Linked DNA regions of Homo sapiens: region 2 is linked to region 1. Evidence: promoter capture Hi-C in 16 types of primary human blood cells and fetal thymus (Javierre and others, 2016). All regions are on one chromosome and are shown on one strand. The core of a region is centred on a gene start or on the middle of the fragment in contact, and the rest is flanking DNA. Distances in the headings are between cores, read along the strand shown.

Region 1 (4,072 bases), core at 1,379-3,878:
TACTCAATTCCCACTATTGTTATAGAACCACATCCACCCCATACTATTGTTACAGCCCTTTTTCACTATTATAAACCCACATATGGTTAGAGACAGAAGAGGACAAAAAACATGCAGCCATAAAGAGGATTTCTCAGTTCCAGGGTGAAGGGTTCCCTTTAATCTCTGCTGATATAGTTTAATGTTCTGCCTGGTTCACTACCTCCTTTTTTTTTTTACACTTTGAAACCTGCTGTGGCTTGAGACATCAACCTTTGGCATAATCACCTGCTGGTTTTATAATCTGCGGCCCACACTGTTGGAAAAAGGAGTTTCAGTCTTTGCTTACTAACAATTTGTGTTCCTCACTGAACACAAATTCCAAAAAGATAAAAGCTTTGATAGGCACCTACCAGAAAGTCACTTTGTGTACAAGTACTAAAGAATGCACCAAAACAAATTGAGGGGTTCACAGCCTCTTATCCCTCGAGGCAAAAGACTTCTAGTTCAAACACTGATGACACAGGTTTTAATGAAAGAAGAGCCCATTTATTTATCTATTCTGATCGGACATCACAGAAATTCAATGCTTATTATAGTAGAGGACAAAGCTGGACAATCCTAATCACCCTAAATTAAAGATACCTCTCAATTTCTTCTCTCTCCTGGGCCATTACACCAAACCTAGAGCAGAACTATACCCACCTTCAGGGCAGAAGAAACAACGTAATAGCTTATTGATCTCTGGTGTAGACCCAAACCCACAAGTCATCAGGCAAGCAGGGATTACAGCCACTTGATGCAGCTAACAATCAAAAGTCGTGTACTGGGTTTTTGGTCCCACACAAGCACACCTCTGGCAATTACCCCTACATAAAAAATGGACCAAACTACTCTCCTCACCAAAACAAACAAAAATACTACTAATCAGGTACGGGAGCAACACATCCTTAATTGTACCAAAAAGAATTTCTTGGCTGTCAGTAAATGCCCAATTACGTTCATTAATTCTTCATTTAGCGTCACTTGCCAGGTTTCAAAAGCCACCATCACATTCAATTCCGTAGATAAATGCCTTCAAAAGAGATAACACTTGCTGACAAATTGGCTGTTGACTAAACCTCACCACCACCACCATTATACTAGTCAAATCAATGTTTGTGGCAAATGAATTAGACTTTTTATAAGTAAAATTTACCAAAGTAATGATATCTTCTAATTCTTTTTCTGGAGAAATCAGAGCAACACTCCAAAAAGGAAAGGTTAAAACTGAGCTCTCTGAAATACCTATTCAGTGTGTTTAACTGATGAACTAAGAACGGTGAAGTCAGAAGTGTAACTTAATTATCTTAAGAGATAGATGTTCTTTGCAATTAATTCCATTCAGCTCTTGCTCAGACCCCAACGCAATATAAAGCTGTCCGCACAGTCTTCAGCCTTCTCTTAACCCGAAAGGAGTTATCTCTAACCCGATCCATCGACTGGAATAAAGTAACAGTGACCACAGCGGCGGACGAGGATGGATGAAATTACAATTGAACTAGGAGTCAGGACAGATGTGTACACCCTAACAGGAGAGACTGAGGTGGGGCTGGAAACTATTTTCTGGCCTTCTCCCGCGTGCTGCTCCCGGGGAACCAACAGGACCCTGCACGCCCGGATTCGGCAGAGCCCTTGCCCCCGAGGTGGAGTGGGGAGAAGTCAGCGGGAAGCCTTTTCAGGGAATCGAGTAGGACAAGGGCTGGCGCGGTGGGAATCTCGCCGGTGAGAGAACTTCCTAACCCCGGGTTGAGGGGGCGGGGGGAAGGACCGTCCCGGCAGCGGCGGGGGCGAGCTCCTCTGCTTTCTCACAGTCAAGCATCTTTGTGTGTGGATTGTGCCAGGCTACGGGTCCTGGAGCAACTGGCCGCGGGGGCCCTCGAACCCAGGTCGGGAAGTCCGCCCGCCACCCCCTCGCTCCGCCGGGGCCCTCCCGGCCGGGCCCCCCAGCCCCTCTCCACCACCCGAGGGTCTGGAGGTGGACGAGTGGAGAAAAGCATCTCCGTGTGGGGACACCCGTTCCGCCACATCCACCCCCTCACCGGTCTTTGTCCCGCCGGTAGCCAGGGTCTCCGCGGGAGTCTCCAGGGGAACCCCCGTCCTGGAGGCCTCGGGGCCCGGGTCGCCTCAGCTTTGTTCGGTCAGCGGGGCGCGGGGACGCGGACACTTACCGTACACCCCAGCGAGGAAAAGCAAGAGCAACGCAGACCTCCACCGCGGAGACTCTTTTGTGCTCCAGCGACAGGCCATAACCACAGCAGATGGAGAGAGAGAGGAGGAGACGGAGGAGGAGGGAGGAGAAGCTGGAGGTAGACGACGCCGACGCCGCCGCCGCCGCCGCCGCCGCCGCCGAGCCACCGGCTGCTCCCTGCGCTCTCCGCGGCTGCGGGAGGGGGAAGGGAGGGGCCGCCGCCGCCCGCGCGCGCTCCCTCCTCCCTCCTCCCTCCGGCTCGCCTGCTCCCACCCCGGGCGGTGCGAGAGCCCCACGCGGGGCGGCCCTCCTGGGGGCAAGGGCAAGGAGCTCGCGCGCCAGCGCGAGACGAGAGGGTGGCGGACGCCGGACTCCGGCCTCGCGCCGCTCGGGCTAGCCGGCGCCGCCACTCGCCAGACTGAGCGCGCGCCCATCCGTGCGATCGGCAATCCCCTGGCCCGCCTGCCTCGGTTCCCTCCCCGCGCTCCGCTGGACTTTCCAAGTTTCGGGCCGATTTCCACGCGACGGGAGCCCAAGGAGCAAGGCAGCGCCAATCGATGACAGAGCGTGCGAACGCCGGCTGCTGGATGCCCAGGGGCTGGAGCGCGGGGTGTGTGGAGGAGCACGGTCGCTGTCCGAGGGCTGGGCTCTGGCCCAGCGGGTGGGGGGAGGGGGGGTGGGATACCAGCTGGGAGGCTGAAGGTGGTTCCGTGTTGGGGGAGGCGTGGATGGTCTGAAGCTGACAACTTGGGAGTTCCTTCCTCTATCCGGTACCCCCAAGTCTCCACTTGCTGTCGGCGCGGAGCTTCGAGTGGGGGTGGGCTCAAGTTAGTGCGGCCAACCTGGCAGCTGGTCGGTCAAGGGGCAGTGTGGACTCCCACGCTCAAGGTGCCCGGAATGAGTCGGGCAAGGCTTGTGCAGAGCCCCTCCAGTCTGGCGTGGAAGCGCCAAGAGGTCATTTGACATCTCACGCTGGGTCGGGTGCAGCTGGGCCAGGATGTTCGGCAGGGCTGGAGCCGACTTTCAGGGTAGATATATTGAAAGGAGGATTCGCCCATCACGCTGCAGTTTCCCTAAAGCTCTTTTCTCACTCCCAGCAAATGGGAGTCCTCCTTTACTTAGATCCCCAGAACACTTTTCTAAGTACGTCTGTAGTGACGCTGGCACATCAGACCTTACCCCCTGTGTTTTTAAAGCGTTTGTCTACAACGTCTTATTTATATTAGATTTTATCGTTGCCCTTTGCAAGCACTCTCCATGCTATTCATTGAAGACCTACACTGCATCATGCTGTCCTATTGACATAGGTTGTCACTTTTTAATCCCAAACATCCTTGTGAGATAAATATTACCCATGTTTTATAGAAAAGAGAGAAATTAAATTACTCATGGCAAGTAAGTTGTTTGAAACAGTTTTTCTCATTCCAAAGTAAAGATTGTTGCCCCTATACCACAGCAAACTCTCTAGCACAATGCTTAGCGCCTAGTAATGTGTCGGAGTTGGTGCCTGCCAGGGGGTTCGTGGTCTCCCTGACTTCAAGAATGAAGCTGCAGACCTTCCCGGTGACTGTTAACAGCTCTTAAAGATGGCACGGACTCAAAGAGTGAGCGGTAGCAAGGTTTATTGCGAAGAGCAAAAGGACAGCTTCCACAGCATGGAAGAGAACCCCAGGTGCTGGCTGGTGGTGGCCAGCTTTTATTCCCTTGTGGTCCCCTCCCATGTTCCATTTCTGTCCTATCGGAGTGCCCCTCTTTCAATCCTCCCTGCGATTGGCTACTTTTGGAATCCTGCTGATTGGTGCGTTTTACAGAGTGCTGATTGGTGCATTTTACAGAGCGCTGATTGGTGCATTTTACAATCCT
Region 2 (3,875 bases), core at 1,094-3,593, 57 kb before region 1:
ATGTAACAGAGCACAAAACGCTCAATGATATGGCTTCAGATTCCACATTGCAACTAACCTTAAAGAAACTACCTCGTGTTGAGTTTTGGTGTAGTATCATAGAATATTCACCATTATCTGAAAAAGGCTATTAAAATATTCCTTTCTTTTCCAATTATACGTCACTGTGAGGCTGGCCTGTCTCCTAGTATGTCAAACAAAACATGATGTTGCAAAAGACTGAATGCGGAAACAGATATGAGAATCTAGCTATTTTCTTTTAAGTCAATCATTACTTTATAAAATTATAAAACAATGCTGTTCTTATTGTTTTTTGTTTTGAAATATATATTTTTCATAAAACCATACTACATATTGATGTAAACATGCAATAGGTTACTGTTATTTTTAATTGAACTAATGAGTTTTAAAACAAATTCTCAGTTTTAATTTCTAACATAGTAAATATTGGTAGCTGTAGCCCATATAAACAAAAACTCTTTTAAGTCCTTGTTACAGACTGAATTGTGTCCCCCCTCAAGCCCATATGTGGAAGCCCTAACTCCCAATGTGACTGTATTTGGAGACACAGCCTTTAAGGAGGTAACTGAGGTTAAATGAGGTCATAAGGATGGGACCCTAATACCATAGGACTCATGTTCTTATTAGAAGAAGAGGCACAAGAGACCTCTTGCTTTCTCTGAACATTCATAGAAAAAAGGCCATGTGAGGACACAATGAGAAGGTGGCCATCTACAGGCCAGGAAAAGAGGTCTCACCAGGGACCAACCCTGCCAGCACTTTGATGTTGGACTTTCAGAACTGTGAGAAAAACTGATGTCTGTTATTTAAGCCATCCACAGTAGTATTTTGTTGCAGCAGCACACGTAGACTAAAACAGGCCTCAGTAGTTTTTAAAAGTTTATAATGGGTCCTGAGACCAAAACTTTTGAAAACTACTAAATTAAACAGTAACCATTTGGTTGTATAAATTAAAATGTTTGTAAACAAACATACTTTATAGTTACAACTTGGAAAAGTAATTATAATTCTCATTAACTATTCAAAATGCAAAGAAAAAGGGAGAAGGCCATCTTTAAAATAACCTTACTGTTATTTGATAAATACAATTATATATCATTTGAGAATGTATTTTTAAAAAAGTGAAACAAACTATGAAAAAAAATTGATGCAGGCACTGAAGCACTTGCTTTGCGTTTTCAGGAAACTAGGCTTGTTGGGCTTGATGTGTTTGACTAGGGCACACTAACCCTTAGAGTATTTGTTAAGTCTATTAACTTTCTGAATACAAAGTCAGACATAAAACAAAAGAACAGGATTTGCTTCATGTGAGGAAAAAAGAACCAAACAAATTACAAGATGACACAAAGAAGTTAATCAATGGATTGATAAATACACTAAGTACAGTTTTAACCACACAAAACTTATCAATATAGGGAAATAATAAATGAACAGTAAGAAAACCTATTTCAATATATGCAAAAATAAATATTTTAGTTCTCCTAGTAACTGTGGTTGACAGCAAAAATGGTAACGGAGCTGTGGAAGTGGCCTAAGAATAAAAATTTTAGTAGTTATAAGTCTTTAAGTAATTATAAAGTTATAAAGTAATTACAAGTTATAAAAGCCTAGATGAGTATAAAAAATACATTAACCACAATGATGAATTTCTGAATTTCATGGACACAAGTATACTGTGTTGCTTTTAACAGCAAATAAACTGTGCGCTCAAATACAATAGTTATATGTAGAGTAGTACTATAAAAATCAAGCAAAAAGCTTAATTTCTAAGGCTCTAATCCTAGGGATAGCATTCAAAATCACATTTCAGTAAATTTCATGTCACATAACTTTGTATGGAAAGAAAATACTAATTCAACTTGAGCTAACTTTTCTCTAGGTTCAATGTTTGTATGAAAAAATAATTATGCAGTCCGTTTGGAAAAGTATAATCAATCCATGGGCATGCAAGTATCAGTTTTATCTTATGAGAATTTCTCCATGTTCCAGTTACTTCATTCCTTATTACATGCTGCAAAAAGCAGTAATAATTTTTATAGCCAAATATCACTTCGTAAGATACCAGGTGGCTTTCAATATTTACCATATAAGTCATGCATGAAATTTAAACATTACAAAAAATGACTTACCAGTTGACACTCCTGAAATATGCACATTTTCAGAATGTTCTGCAAGAGCACCATTTCCTAAAATTAAACATAATGAATAAACTAATATCCAAGATAAAATTACAAAATTTTTTCAGATCCTCCCTTTAAAAGAGAAACAACTACATAGAGTTCCTTTTAATACAGAGAAGCTAAAGTTTCTTATAATAATCTTCAAGACAATACTAGGAAGCTCAAAATCATAATAGTAATGGGGAAAACAAACATTTTGGAAATCTCAACAAGGTAGTGTTATATATAAAGGTCAAATAGATAGATCTGATCAACACCAGAAAGAATTTTCTATCAATTAATAATCAAAAGGGAAGTCAGTACTGCTACAAGAAAAAAGAGAACACAGCTTGTTAAAAATAGCATTCCCCTAAAAGCGTGTCCAAATCAGCCACAAGTCGGTGTAATATCTGTCAGGGCCACATATGTTGGTACTTAAAAAAAAAAAAAAAAAGTCTTGCATTGTCTTCTAAATCTTCAAAAAAATCTTTCAAATTTTTCTCACCAACAATTCTAACAATCTTAAGTATTGCGAATATTTACTCCCTCAAATTAATGTAAGCAATGTCTCTTCAGATATTTGTCTTAAAATTTTGTATTTTATACATCATTAGTTCTAAAGGTTTCTCTCTTTACCCATTAGTTGGATCTGGCATCACAACAGCTCAGAAACCGAACAGACAAAGAATTCTCCTCGGAGTCAGGTGGGGAAGGAAGCTAGTCAGAAAAAGCTTAGAAGGCAAAAGCAGAATTTTCTTTCATGGTTGAGAGTGGAGAAAATAGCAAATATTGTAATTAACAACTTTTTGTTTACAAGTATCACACTTCTATAATTGCTTGAATATTGTATTGCACCCCCCACCCCAATGCACTAAGCTGTAGGAGAACAGAATTTGTGTTTATTTGGCTCCCCACTGTAGGCACAGTTCCTGATACAGAGGAGGCGCACAAATAGCTGAAAGATGAATGAGGGATGTCCTGATGATTAAAATGAAATCATGCCCATTAAGCACTTGATATAGTGCCTGGCACATAGCATTGAACAGGTGTTGATTTTTGTAACTGTGTAAAGTATATTATTGTTACTAAAGAAAAAATAACAGTGATAAAACAATATTTTTGGTTCAACTACAGTTATACCCTTCAAAATGAAAACATACATTATATTTCCCTCAATTAAGAATGAAACAGTGGAAATGATGAGATAGGTGGGAAGGCCATATTAAGTATACAAATAAATGATTATATTCATTTTAAGTACTCTGCACTGATGCCAAAAAAGGCACAATTTCTTTTTCTCATTTATTGTTAAATGTCACACATACAGAATTGAAATGACCAGAAAGACTGTACCCATTTCTTTACCACACAAAAATTATAAAAACAGGCAGCAGAAACAAAACATGAAACTGATTCAATAAAACACCTAAGAAGGTTTGCCAAAGGTCAGTATAAACTGCCTAAATCCTTGCTACTCACGAGTAGACTAGCAGTACTGGCCACCTTGGGAGTGTGCTAGAAATGCAGAGACTCAGGCTCATTCCAGATTATGGAATCTGAATTTATATGCACACTTAGTGATCTATATGCACATTAAAGTTTAAGAAGCACTGGCAAGGTTTGGGCTTAAATCTTCTACTTCTATATTATACATTGCTACAAATCACAGTTACATAATTTGTGATACTAATGTTT

Evidence for each region. Contacts are between HindIII fragments. The CHiCAGO score rates a contact against its expected background, and 5 or more counts as called.
Region 2: a fragment that was not itself captured here is called in contact with the fragment with the promoter of LRP12 in region 1 in 2 of 17 cell types (megakaryocytes and M2 macrophages); the score reaches 6.7 in megakaryocytes.

The regions. Positions count from the first base shown.
Region 1 is chr8:104,586,630-104,590,701 of GRCh38, forward strand. LRP12 (LDL receptor related protein 12) reads right to left here and starts at 2,629. Exons shown (of 7, transcript NM_013437.5): 1 at 2,190-2,629. The coding sequence starts at 2,268. RefSeq lists silencers at 1,788-1,897, 2,328-2,667. The HindIII fragment of the contact is 14,799 bases long and covers 374-4,072 here.
Region 2 is chr8:104,529,757-104,533,631 of GRCh38, forward strand. LRP12 (LDL receptor related protein 12) reads right to left here. Exons shown (of 7, transcript NM_013437.5): 2 at 2,151-2,207. Among named protein-coding and RNA genes, the nearest start is that of MIR548A3, 47 kb to the left of the region's middle. The HindIII fragment of the contact is 1,132 bases long and covers 1,778-2,909 here.